Regions from separate parts of the Homo sapiens genome. Here regions 2 and 3 are each linked to region 1. The links are contacts of gene promoters, found by promoter capture Hi-C in human tissues and cell types (Jung and others, 2019). All regions are on one chromosome and are shown on one strand. Each heading gives the region's core, a stretch centred on a gene start or on the middle of the fragment in contact. The rest is flanking DNA. Distances are from core to core; before and after follow the strand shown.

The links. Contacts are between HindIII fragments. The study calls those that stand out against the background at their distance.
Region 2: a fragment that was not itself captured here is called in contact with the fragment with the promoter of HDHD3 in region 1 in 2 of the 25 tissues and cell types used here (mesendoderm cells and pancreas).
Region 3: a contact is called between a fragment that was not itself captured here and the fragment with the promoter of HDHD3 in region 1, in 1 of the 25 tissues and cell types used here (IMR-90 fibroblasts).

The regions. Positions count from the first base shown.
Region 1 is chr9:113,375,736-113,379,376 of GRCh38, reverse strand. It overlaps HDHD3 (haloacid dehalogenase like hydrolase domain containing 3), which reads left to right and starts at 2,391. Exons shown (of 3, transcript NM_001304509.2): 1 at 2,391-2,648. RefSeq lists a silencer at 2,020-2,539. The HindIII fragment of the contact is 17,820 bases long and covers 1-3,641 here.
Region 2 is chr9:113,201,676-113,205,316 of GRCh38, reverse strand. FKBP15 (FKBP prolyl isomerase family member 15) reads left to right here. Exons shown (of 28, transcript NM_015258.2): 5 at 2,282-2,356; 6 at 2,688-2,786. Among named protein-coding and RNA genes, the nearest start is that of FKBP15, 18 kb to the left of the region's middle. The HindIII fragment of the contact is 9,656 bases long and covers 1-3,641 here.
Region 3 is chr9:113,517,742-113,521,382 of GRCh38, reverse strand. All of the region lies in intron 14 of RGS3 (regulator of G protein signaling 3), which reads right to left. Among named protein-coding and RNA genes, the nearest start is that of RGS3, 56 kb to the right of the region's middle. RefSeq lists enhancers at 1,082-1,131, 1,152-1,201, 2,918-3,207, 3,609-3,641. The HindIII fragment of the contact is 5,054 bases long and covers 1-3,641 here.

The DNA.
Region 1 (3,641 bases), core at 1,142-3,641:
CAGGCATAGTACCTTCCCTTGAACTTATTTGTGACTCAGATTCCTTTGCTCACATGTTTTCTTGCTGACCTTCTCCTCACTATCAGCCCGCTCTCCTATCGCATTCTTCTTGCTGAGATAGTGAAAATAGTAATCAATAAATACTGAGGGAACTCAGAGACCAGTGCCAGAGCAGGTCCTCCGTATGCTGAGCGCCGGTCTCCTGGGCCCACTGTTCTTTCTCCATACTTTGTCTCGGTGTCTTATTTCTTTTCTCAGTCTCTCGTCCCACCTGATGAGAAATACCCACAGGTGTGGAGGGGCAGGCCACCCCTTCACATGTAGAAACAGGATTGCACAAAACGCTAATAGACTGAATAGAGAAACCCACCAAGACCCATCTGTGTAGATTCTTCTTGGCCTCTCTGTGCAGTGTTCCTTCCTCCAGGGTATGCGGCAAGACCCTCTCAAAGGGGCCTGGGTGGTGGGGGCTGTCTTATGACCTGTCTTGCCTAAGGTCATAGTGCAAGGTGATGAGACTAAAGAGGAACAGAGCACAGGCACAGAAGTATCTCAAAGCTTCCCCTCCGGTACCTCCCCAGCCTCTTTGGCCCAAACCCCCTGGCTAGCAACATTCCTATAGTTCCTCAGTGTCTCTTTGGTTCGGAAAAAAAACTTTCTTGCCTGGAGGCCTTTGCATCAGGGGGTCCCTTAACCATCACTCAGATCCTTCCCCTCTGCATGGCCAACTCTCATATGTTTGTATTTTTTAGTTTTTTGAGACTAACATGCATTACATGCATACCTTATTTATTTATTATTTTTTTATTTTTTTATTTTTTTGAGATGGAGTTTTGCTCTTGTTACCCAGGCTGGAATACAGTAGCCTGATCTTGGCTCACTGCAACCTCCACCTCCCCGGTTCAAGCGATTCTCCTTCCTCAGCCTCCCAAGTAGCTGGGAATACAGGCATGAACCACCTCGCCTAATTTTGTATTTTTAGTAGAGACGGGGTTTCACCGTGTTGGCCAGGCTAGTCTTGAACTCCTGACCTCAGGTGATCCACCCACCTCAGCCTCCCAAAGTGCTGGCATTACAGGCGTGAGCCACCGCGCCCAGCCAACATACATTACTTTTGCAAACAAAGATAAAACTCTTTTTTTATTCTTCAAAAGAATAAAAAAGCTCCCTGGTGGTCTAGTGGTTAGGATTCCAGGCTCTTACCACAGGGATCTTTTTTTTTTTTTTTTTTTTTGGGGACACAGTCTCGCTCTTTGCCCAGGCAAATATTGTGCAGTGGCAGAATCTTGGCTCACTGTAAGCTCCGCCTCCCGGGTTCATGCCATTCTCCTGCCTCAGCCTCCCGAGTAGCTGGGACTACAGGCACCTGCCACCATGCCCGGCTAATTTTTTGTATTTTTAGCAGAGACAGGGTTTCACCGTGTTAGCCAGGATGGTACCACAGGGTTCTTAAAAACAAAAAGAGGCCAGGTGCGGTGGCTCATGCCTGTAATCCCAGCACTTTGGGAGGCTGAGGTGGGCGGATCACCTGAGGTCAGGAGTTCAAGACTAGCCAGGCCAACACGGCGAAACCCTGTCTCTACTAAAAATACAAAAATTAGTTGGGTGTGGTGGCACACACCTGTAATCCCAGCTACTGGGGAGTCTGAGGCAGGAGAATCGCAAGAAACTGGGAGGCGGGGGTTGCAGTGGGCTATCGCGCCACTGCACTCCAGCCTGAGCGACAGAGGGAGACTCCGTCTCAAAAAAAAAAAAAGAGAAAGAATAAAAAAGCAGGTTACTGCAGCGGACTCTACCCTCACCAAGTTATCTTGGATTTAACAAGTTTCCAACTGAAAGCAATTCCCTCCAATACCAACTGGGGACCCTGAGACCAGAGAGGGGCTGGGCCTTGCCCAGGTTCACACAACACTAAGCAAGCCAGGCTGGGTCCCAACTCCCCTCCTCCCACTCAACCTGGGTACTTCTCGGGGGTTTCCCGATCCAAAGGAGGCCAGGAGCCGGGGTTGGGGATGGGGAGCGGAGACAGCGGTGAGGAGCGGCGGTGTGGCGGGCAGGGGGTGCGCAGACAGGGCGGAGAAGGTGCTGGTAACGGGGGCTGCGGAGCGGAAGGGTGCGGGCTGGGGAACCTCAGAGGGTGCGGGGAGGGAATAAGGGGCGTAGATGGTGCAGGGTAACGGAGGCGCGCAGTGAAGGCGGGTGACAGGGGCGCAGAGAGGTGCACAGTGAGACGAAGGAGGGAGAGGGGACGGCGAGGGCGACGGGAGATGGGGCGGGAGAGGGCGAAGGTGAGGGGGATAAGGGCGGGGACGGGGCGGGGACAGAGGCGGGTCGGGATGGTAGGGAGGGGCGGCCCGCGCGATCCCCGCCCCACCGCCCGGCGCTTGCGCACCTCCGCCCGAGCTCGCGGGCCTTGCGGCTGCGTTTTCAATCTGCTTCCTTGTGAGTCAGGTGGGTCCTGGGCCCAGGAACCGGCCCGGAGCCGTGGACGCCCTACAGCTGAGAAGGGGACCCAAGGGGTCGGCCGCGGCCAAGGCCCCTAGGACCGCCGCCCCAGCTCACGCTGCCGACGGCAGCTATAGACATTCTGCGTCAGGTCCGGGCTCCTGGACTTCGCCTTTCCCGAGCCCTGGAGGTGGGGAGAAAAGGTGAGCAGTTCGTGCCTGCAGCGCAGAGCCCCAAACCCGCGGTTTTAGAAATCGAAAAAGCCCTGCCGGGCGCGGTGGCTCACGCCTTTACCGTAATCCCAGCACTTTGGGAGGCCGGGGGGCGGGGTGGGGCGGGGGAGGATCACGAGTTCGGGAGTTCGAGACCAGCCTGGCTAACATAGTTGAAACCCCGTCTCCACTAAAAATACAAAAATTAGCCAGGTGTGGTGGCGCGCGCCTGTAGTCCCAGCTACTCTGGAGGCTAAGGAAGGAGAATCGCTTGAATCCGGGAGGCGGAAGTTGCAGTGAGCCGAGATCGCACCACTGTACACCTGGGTGACAGAGTGAGACTCTGTCTCAAAAAAAAAAAAAAAGAAAAAAAGCCGGCCGGGTATAGTGGCTCACGCCTGTAATCCTAACACTTTGGGAGGCTGAGGTCGGGAGTTCGAGACCAGCCTGGCCAACATGGAGAAACCCCGTCTCTACTAAAAATACAAAAAAAAAAGGAGCCGGGGATGGTGGCGCATGCCTGTAATCCCAGCTACTTGGGAGGCTGAGGCAGGAGAATCGCTTGAACCTGGGAGGCGGAGGTTGCAGTGAGCCGAGATCGCGCCATTGCACTTCAGCCTGGGCAACAAGAACGAAACTCCGCCTCAAAAAAAAAAAAAAAAAAAAAAAAAAGCCGTGGGTCAGGAGCCAGAGCCCTCTGCTCTAGTCTTAGCTGTGCCAATGTGACTCCCTGTGTGATTTGGGGGTAAATTACTGCCCCTCACTGGGTCTCTGTCTACCCACCTGCAAAATGAGAGGATCTTTGGATGAGTCTCCTTAATTCATTTCCTGGACAAACTTCCTCCAAGGCTCCCCCAGATTTACCAGTGACGCCCTTCCCTAAGTATCAACTTAGCCGTACTTTGAACTCTGGCCCCTCAGGTTTCAAGGGGACGGCCTTGTCTGGGATCAGCTCTGTCTGGGGAAAGAAGCTGCACCAGCCTC
Region 2 (3,641 bases), core at 633-3,132, 170 kb after region 1:
TGTGGAGTTGTAGTAGTCTTTTAATATATTCTGAGTATTAAACCCTTATTTGCAGATATTTTATAGATTATCTTTTCACTTTCTTGATAATGTCCTTTGATGTACAAAAGTTTTTAATTTTGGTGAAGTCCATATTATCAAGTTTTTTCTTTTGTTACTTGTACTTTTGGTGTTTTATCTGAGAATCCATTACCAAAACCAAGGTCATGACGATTCACCTCTACGTTTTCTTCTAAGAGTTTTATGATTTTATCCCTCATGTTGTTTTATATACAAGTTGGGCCTACGGTAAAAAATTACTTGACATGTGAAGAGGTGGGAAAATGTAACTAATAATCAAGGGAACAAATAAACTAGGAGCAGACTCACAAATAACCTAGATATTGCAGTTAACATACAAGGCACTTAAAACAACTAGGAATAATATCTTAAAGAAAATAGAGGAAAAGTACAAAAGGGATGAAAAGATGGAGAATTTAAAAAGTTAGAATCTATAAGAATAATCACATGGCAGTCTAGATTTGAAAAATACAATTTCTGAAACTAAGAACATATTGGATGGGTTTAACAGAGTCAGAATACAGCAGGAGACAGAATTAGTGACTTCGAAGGCAGTAACATAGAAAATATTCAGACTGAAGCACAGAGAGAAGAAATAATAGAAAGAGACCAGGGCAAAGATTGATGTGGGACATGGTCTAACGTCCATGTAATTGGAATCCAAAGACAGTAGAATTATATCTTTAAAGTACTGAAAGGAAAACAAAACCCTGCCTATTACAGAATTCTATAGCAACAAAAATATCCTTCAAAAATGAAGGCAAAATAAATTTTCAGCCAAACAAAAGTGAGAGAATTCATTGTAGTAGATTTGCACTACAAGGAACATTAAAGGACATTCTTTAAGTTGAGGGAAACGAATGTCTGTGTCTTTCAAAAGACATGGAGAGGCTGGGCGCGGTGGCTTACGCCTGCAATCCCAGCACTTTGGAAAGCCAAGGCTGAGGTCGGGAGTTCAAGGCCAGCCTGACCAACATGGAGAAACCCCGTGTCTACTAAAAATACAAAAAAATTAGCCAGGTGTGATGGCACATGCCTGTAATCCCAGCTACTTGGGAGGCTGGGGCAGGAGAATTGCTTGAACCTGGGAGGTGGAGGTTGCGGTAAGCTGAGATCATGCCATTGCACTCCAGCCTGGGCAACAAGAGTGAAACGTCATCTCAAAAAAAAATGACGTGGAGAATGTTCATAGAAGTATCATTCATAATAGCCTCTAGCTGGAAACAACTCAAATGTTCATAAACAGGAGAATGAATGAAGAGTTTATGGTATATTCACATAATAGAATACTACATGACAATAAAAGAGAATAAAGTCCTGGAACATGAAGTATCAAGGCTTACTCTTATAGATACGGTGAGTGAAAGAAGCAAGACAAAAGAGTATACTCTGTATAATCCTATTTATACAAATTTAAGAATAGCAAAATTGTCTGGGTGCGGTGGCTCACACCTGTAATCTCAGCACTTTGGGAGGCCAAGGTGGGCGGATCACCTGAGGTCAGGAGTTCAAGACCAGCCTGGCCAACATGGTGAAACCTGGTCTCTACTAAAAATACAAAATTAGTAGGGTGTGGTGGCGTGCACCTGTAGTCTCAGCTGCTCGGGAGCCTGAGGCAGGAGAATTGCTTGAACCCGGGAGGCAGTGGTTGCAGTGAGCCGAGATTGCGCCACTGCACTCCAGCCTGGGCGACAGAGAGACTCTGTCTCAAAAAGAAAAAAAAAAAAAGCAAAATTAATCAGCGACAGAAGTCAGAATATTGGTTATCTCAGGGTGGGGATTATTGACTAGGAAGGGCATGAGGGAGCTTCCTGTGGTGTGGGAAATGCTCTGCTATTTTTTAAATCTGGTTGATGGTCACGTGGGCACATATATGTATAATGAACATGTATTTTATGTTTTTCATCAATTTAAAAACAATTTGTATTTTCTTTTACACAACCAGCCACTCTTAGTCACCCCTTGTATAAATGAAAACACCAACAAAATGAAGACATTGCCAATTACAGTTAAACAGTAAGACCAAAATGAGAAGAGATTAATGTGGATAGTGAGAAGATAAAATTTAAAGTTGAAGCCTTAAAGGATGAATAGATTTTGAGTTTAGTATGAAGCACAACCTTTGATACTTATTGCTGATTTTATATTGCTGATTTTATATTGCCTTTTAACTTCTGCTGTCTCTCTTTTTTTTTTTCTATCTGTCGTTGCTTGTCTACAGTATAGGATTCTTCTTTATATCAGTCAACAACAGCCAGTTACGGTTGCTAGGATTCATGTGAACTTTGAGCTAATGGTAAGACTTCATCATATTGGAATCATTAGCTCCTTCGGGATAGGTTTACAGGAGAGACTGGTCTGATTGTACCTAATAGAAATTAGATCCACTGGTTCAGCCCTGGGTGTCCTTGTGAGTATCTAACAGAACCTTTCAGAAAGGTCTCTTGGCTCCTTCTAGGAATGTGGACTGAAGGGTGAATCGTAGAGGGTGAGAGGGAAGAAGAAAGATCTCTGATAGTTCCCTTTGGGTCCACCTGAGTCAAGACCCTACTCTATGAGCTTAGGCCGTCATGTTTATCTGGTATAATACTGCTTGTGGATGAATTTAACATTTCTCCTTTCTCCAGGTTCGGCCCAATAACTATAGCACCTTTTATGATGACCAGAGACAGAACTGGTCCATCATGTTTGAGTCGGAAAAGGCTGCTGTGGAGTTCAATAAGCAGGTGATAACATCTTACTCTCCCTGTGAAAAGCCAAAATACTTGTTTGGATTTCCCTTAATTTTAGGGAAACATATAGAAAACCCATAATCTGCTGTGTTTTGTTAGTGACTAGCATAAAAAACCCACTAAATTTGCCACTTCGGCCTATTGTATGATTTCAGGAAAATAATAGGAATACTTACTGAAACTGCTTGACAATTTAGCCTTTTTCTTTTTTAACAGAGAAAGACTAAATGTAATCTTATTATATTAAAAAATTTTCTACTACATAAATTATCTTAAGGAATAAATAAAACTATCTTTAAAAAATAGTGTTTTCAAAGAATGTTTTAGGCTGGGTGTGGTGGTTCATGCCACGCTTGTAATCCCAGCATTTTGGGAGGCCGAGGCAGGTGGATCACTTGAGCCTAGGAGTTCAAGATCAGCCTGGGCAACATAGTGAAACCCCATCTGTACAAGAAAAGAAAGAAAGAGAGAGAAAGAGATAGAGAGAGCAAGAAAGAGAGTTAAGTTACTACATACTCATTGTAGAAAATTTAGAAAAGCATTAAAAAAAATCACTCATAGTCTTACTACTCAAAGTAACCACTATTAACATATTTCCTTTTTTCTATGCATAATATACATAAGTAGATACAGTCCTTTAATAGTTCTTTATCATGCTTATTTTATTTAAAAATGTATAATTCATCTTTTCCTACCTCATGAAAAACTATTTGGAAACATTTTTGAAGGCTGCATAATATGCATGTTGTCAGTTCAAGCTACCGTAACAAATTACCATAGTCTGGTTAAGCAACAGAAATTTATTTCTCACGGTTCTCGAGGCTGAAAGTCTGAGATCAGGGTGCCAGC
Region 3 (3,641 bases), core at 710-3,209, 140 kb before region 1:
ATTATATTTGCAATCACTGTTACTTTTGTAATTTAAAAATATAGAATATATATCAAAATATGGCTTGGCTTCTTGAGTGTAGCACAAATACAGAGGCTTGAGGAAATCTGGGCTGCAGAGACAACAGGGAGACGTCCTTGAAGGAGCTCTCAGGGGCTTTGGCTTCTCCAATGGGGCCCAAACATGAGGACTCCAGAACCCTGGGCTATAAGGCATCTTGGTAGTGACCCTAACCCTTCCCACCACAGCCCTGTCTCAGTGCAGCCCAAGAGAAGTCTTCAAGTGTTGAACGCTTCCTTTCTGCTCAGTGGATCCTCACTTATAAATAACACCACTGCCCTCATTTACAGATGAGGACCCTAGAGCTCAGACAGGTTAAGTGACCTGTCCATGGCCACACAGCCAGGGACCATTACCCAGGTATAGCTGACCTAAAGCTATCACTATACAGAGAGATACCAATGTGCTTACAGCTGTGCAGTTCCTGAATGTGAAAGAATCCAGAGACCAAAGAGGTGGAGCAAATGAGGCAAAAATAATAATTAATAATAATAATGATAATAATAATGTTAAGAGATGAGGTGAAGAAAATGACTCAAGAGCTCAGAAGGAGTCAAGGAATTGGTTGTCTGAGAAGACTTCAAAGTCCGAGCAATGGAAAGAAGGCTCTAAACTAGCCAGAAACACAAAGCAAACCCTCAGGGTCCCACAAAACGTGTCGCTGACTCAAGGGAAATCTGGTAGTCACCTCCAGACCCAGAGGGAGGCTGGCAGGGGAAGGGCTGGAGCCGACAATCTGTCAGGAGCCTAGAAAGTTTAAAAAAAAAAAAAAAAAAAAAACAGCCCAGGCCCAGAGAGGGGTGGAAGTAGGGCAAGTAGGAGGAGCCACCAGCAACTGGGGAAGAACCATGAGCAAGGTGAGAAAAGGCCCAGGCCACCACTCTGGCTCAGATTCCCAGGGCTGAGAATATGGTCTAGACAGGAAGTGATTAAGGCATAAATGAAAAATTTCCCAAAGGTTGGGTCAGGGAAAGGCCAGAGCTGGCACACAGCTGGAGGCAGAGCAGAGGGGCAAGCGTGCCGGGGAGGGCATGTGGACTCCCCCATCTCACCAGCACCAGCAGGGGCCACGGCAGCCCATGGGAGAGTGATGCCCATCTCCATGGCCCAATCACCTGTCGCCTTCCACAGGCCACGGGGGTCACCCAGTGTCTTCCCCACACTTGCTCCAAGGACACATCTGATTTTCCAAAGGGTCAGAGTTGAGGGATCACTTGGTAAGGGGGTCCTTACCACTTGGAGGGTGGCTTCTCCCAAGTGGCCCTAACTAAGCTTCTTCTTGGGAATCTGACCTAAGAGCAGAGTTTACCAAAAAGACTTTGGTGCCTTAGTTAATGGTAAACTCCATGAGTCAGTGTGTAAAGGGAGGGTGTGTCTGTCTTGTGCTTCATGGTATTCCCAGAACCTCGCACAGGGCCATAGACCTCAGGGCACATTAATCAAGTCTATTACTTCTGGAAGGGGCTGTGATGAGGGTAGTTCACGGTGCGGGACTGGATCAGCTCACAGATGTTAGCAAACTTGAGCATGCCCAGAGAAGTGATGGGACAAAGAACCAAGGAGGAACATTCCACAAATAAAGATTTCTGTTGAGTGTAAGGGAGAATGCTCTACAATTTAGCCCTTCCCAGTAAAAAAAAAAACCACTGCTCTAATGGGCTGCCCTAGAAGATTCAAGCACCAATCAGAAAACCATTTAACTGGAAAGTTACAAGGAAGCAATTAGCATGGATGACTCCTGAAAGCCTAACCAATGCTGAGATTTCATGAATTTATCCAAATCCCTTTGAATTTTTTTTTTTTTTTTTTTTTGGTGTGAGTAATATGACAGGATGCCCAGATCTACATGTTTGGTTGCCATCATACTTCAACAAAAAGGAATACATTAATATTTATTTTACTTGTCTTCAAATTGTTTCCTTCAATCTTCAAGGCTAAGGGAGAGGGGTCTCTTGGTTCTAAGTCTCCAGAGATCTATAAGGCAGGGTTTTCTGGACGAATTGCAACTGTCACAAGGCTCTGGCTTCAGCTTGTGTTCCTTAGTTTGTCTTTATGCAGACATGCCAGAAGCAGTGTGGGGTCATGGAAAGCATCACTGAGCCAGAAATGACCCGGCTCCATTCCTTACCAGCCTGGAGACTCTTGGGTCCCAGTGAATCTCACTGGAGCCTCAGTTGCCTTAACTACAGAGTGGGGACAATCGTGCCTTTCATGGGGGTGCTGCAAGAGCTAATTGGGGTCAAGTATGTAAAATGCATACACAATGAGGATACACAATAAGTGCTCAATGTTTGCAGATTCAAGGGTAAGTGGACAAACAGAAGAGTGAATTTAGACTTATGTATATGTTTCAGGGTGGCTGCCATCTCTAACTGGCTTCTTATGAGTCTGTGAATTTATGGCCACACCTCAATTTCTGACCCTTGGATGCCAGACTTAGGTCCACCACACTCTCATTCACCAAACATAGCTCTAAGTGACTTCTCATCCCTAAAACTTAAATCCCTCCCAACAGATGAAGTTTTACTCCCACTGAGACAATTCAGAAGATATGCAAAGATTGTTAAGTTCCCAAAGTTTGCAAAGTTCCCAAGAGGAGGTTCGGAAAAGAGGAGGTCCAGAAATACAGTAGGCAACAGCGAGCGGTGGAAGGGAGCATGCAGTCCCCCAGGGCACTCCCTTGAAAAAGATAATGTACATTTGGAATAGATGAGTTCCAGTCCAGTCTGCTTACTTAAAAAACAAACCAACCTCCTGCTTCAGCCACAGTCACACATAGTGTCCCAGAAGGCTGAGGTTTAAAGCGTCCTTACAGACCAACCTCTGACCCTGCCCTTACTGCCTCAAATACACACATACCTACTGCTCAGATGGAAAGACTGAGGAAGAAGGAAGAAATCACATGTGAGCCAGCAGCAGACCTGGGTCTCGATACAAACTTCCTGTCTCCAAGTTTCCTGATCTTTCCACTACCCCAAGCTGCCACTCGACTCAGCCAAGGCAGCTCTACATTGGGGCCTGATCTGCAAAGAGCCTGCTACCCTCACCCCATGGCCCCAGGTAGCCAGGGCAGAGCCCAGGGCTCCAACTTCTGTACCCAAGTAGTTTAAGCTCAGAGACTGAACTGACCAGCTCTGGGGTTGTGTAGATGAATGAAGTTCTCCCAATTAGAGAAAAGCATCCCAGGCCAGCTCCCAGGAAGGGTGACACAGGTCCCATGTCAGCACCCCACAGGCAGAGCTACAACCCAGGCGAAATCATAGACTCGTCTCTCAGAAGAGGACATGGGATTTGGGTTAAAACAGGCCCAGAAAACTCAGGTAAACTGATGCTGGTCTAAAAATTCACTTTGGCTAATAGCTTTACTCTTCCTGCCACCAAAGTCACTCCCCACAGCCAGGGTAAATTGCCATCTCTTCTGCTCCTGAGAGGAAGGTGGGATAAACAATGGGGTGTCTTTAGGGGCTGGGGAAACTTTCTAACCATCAAAGAAGGATTCGACAGCTTTTGAAAGGAGATGTACAAGAAAAAGCTGGGTAGCCTTTGCTAGGGAGAGTGGCGGGGTCCTTCTCAGGTCTCCC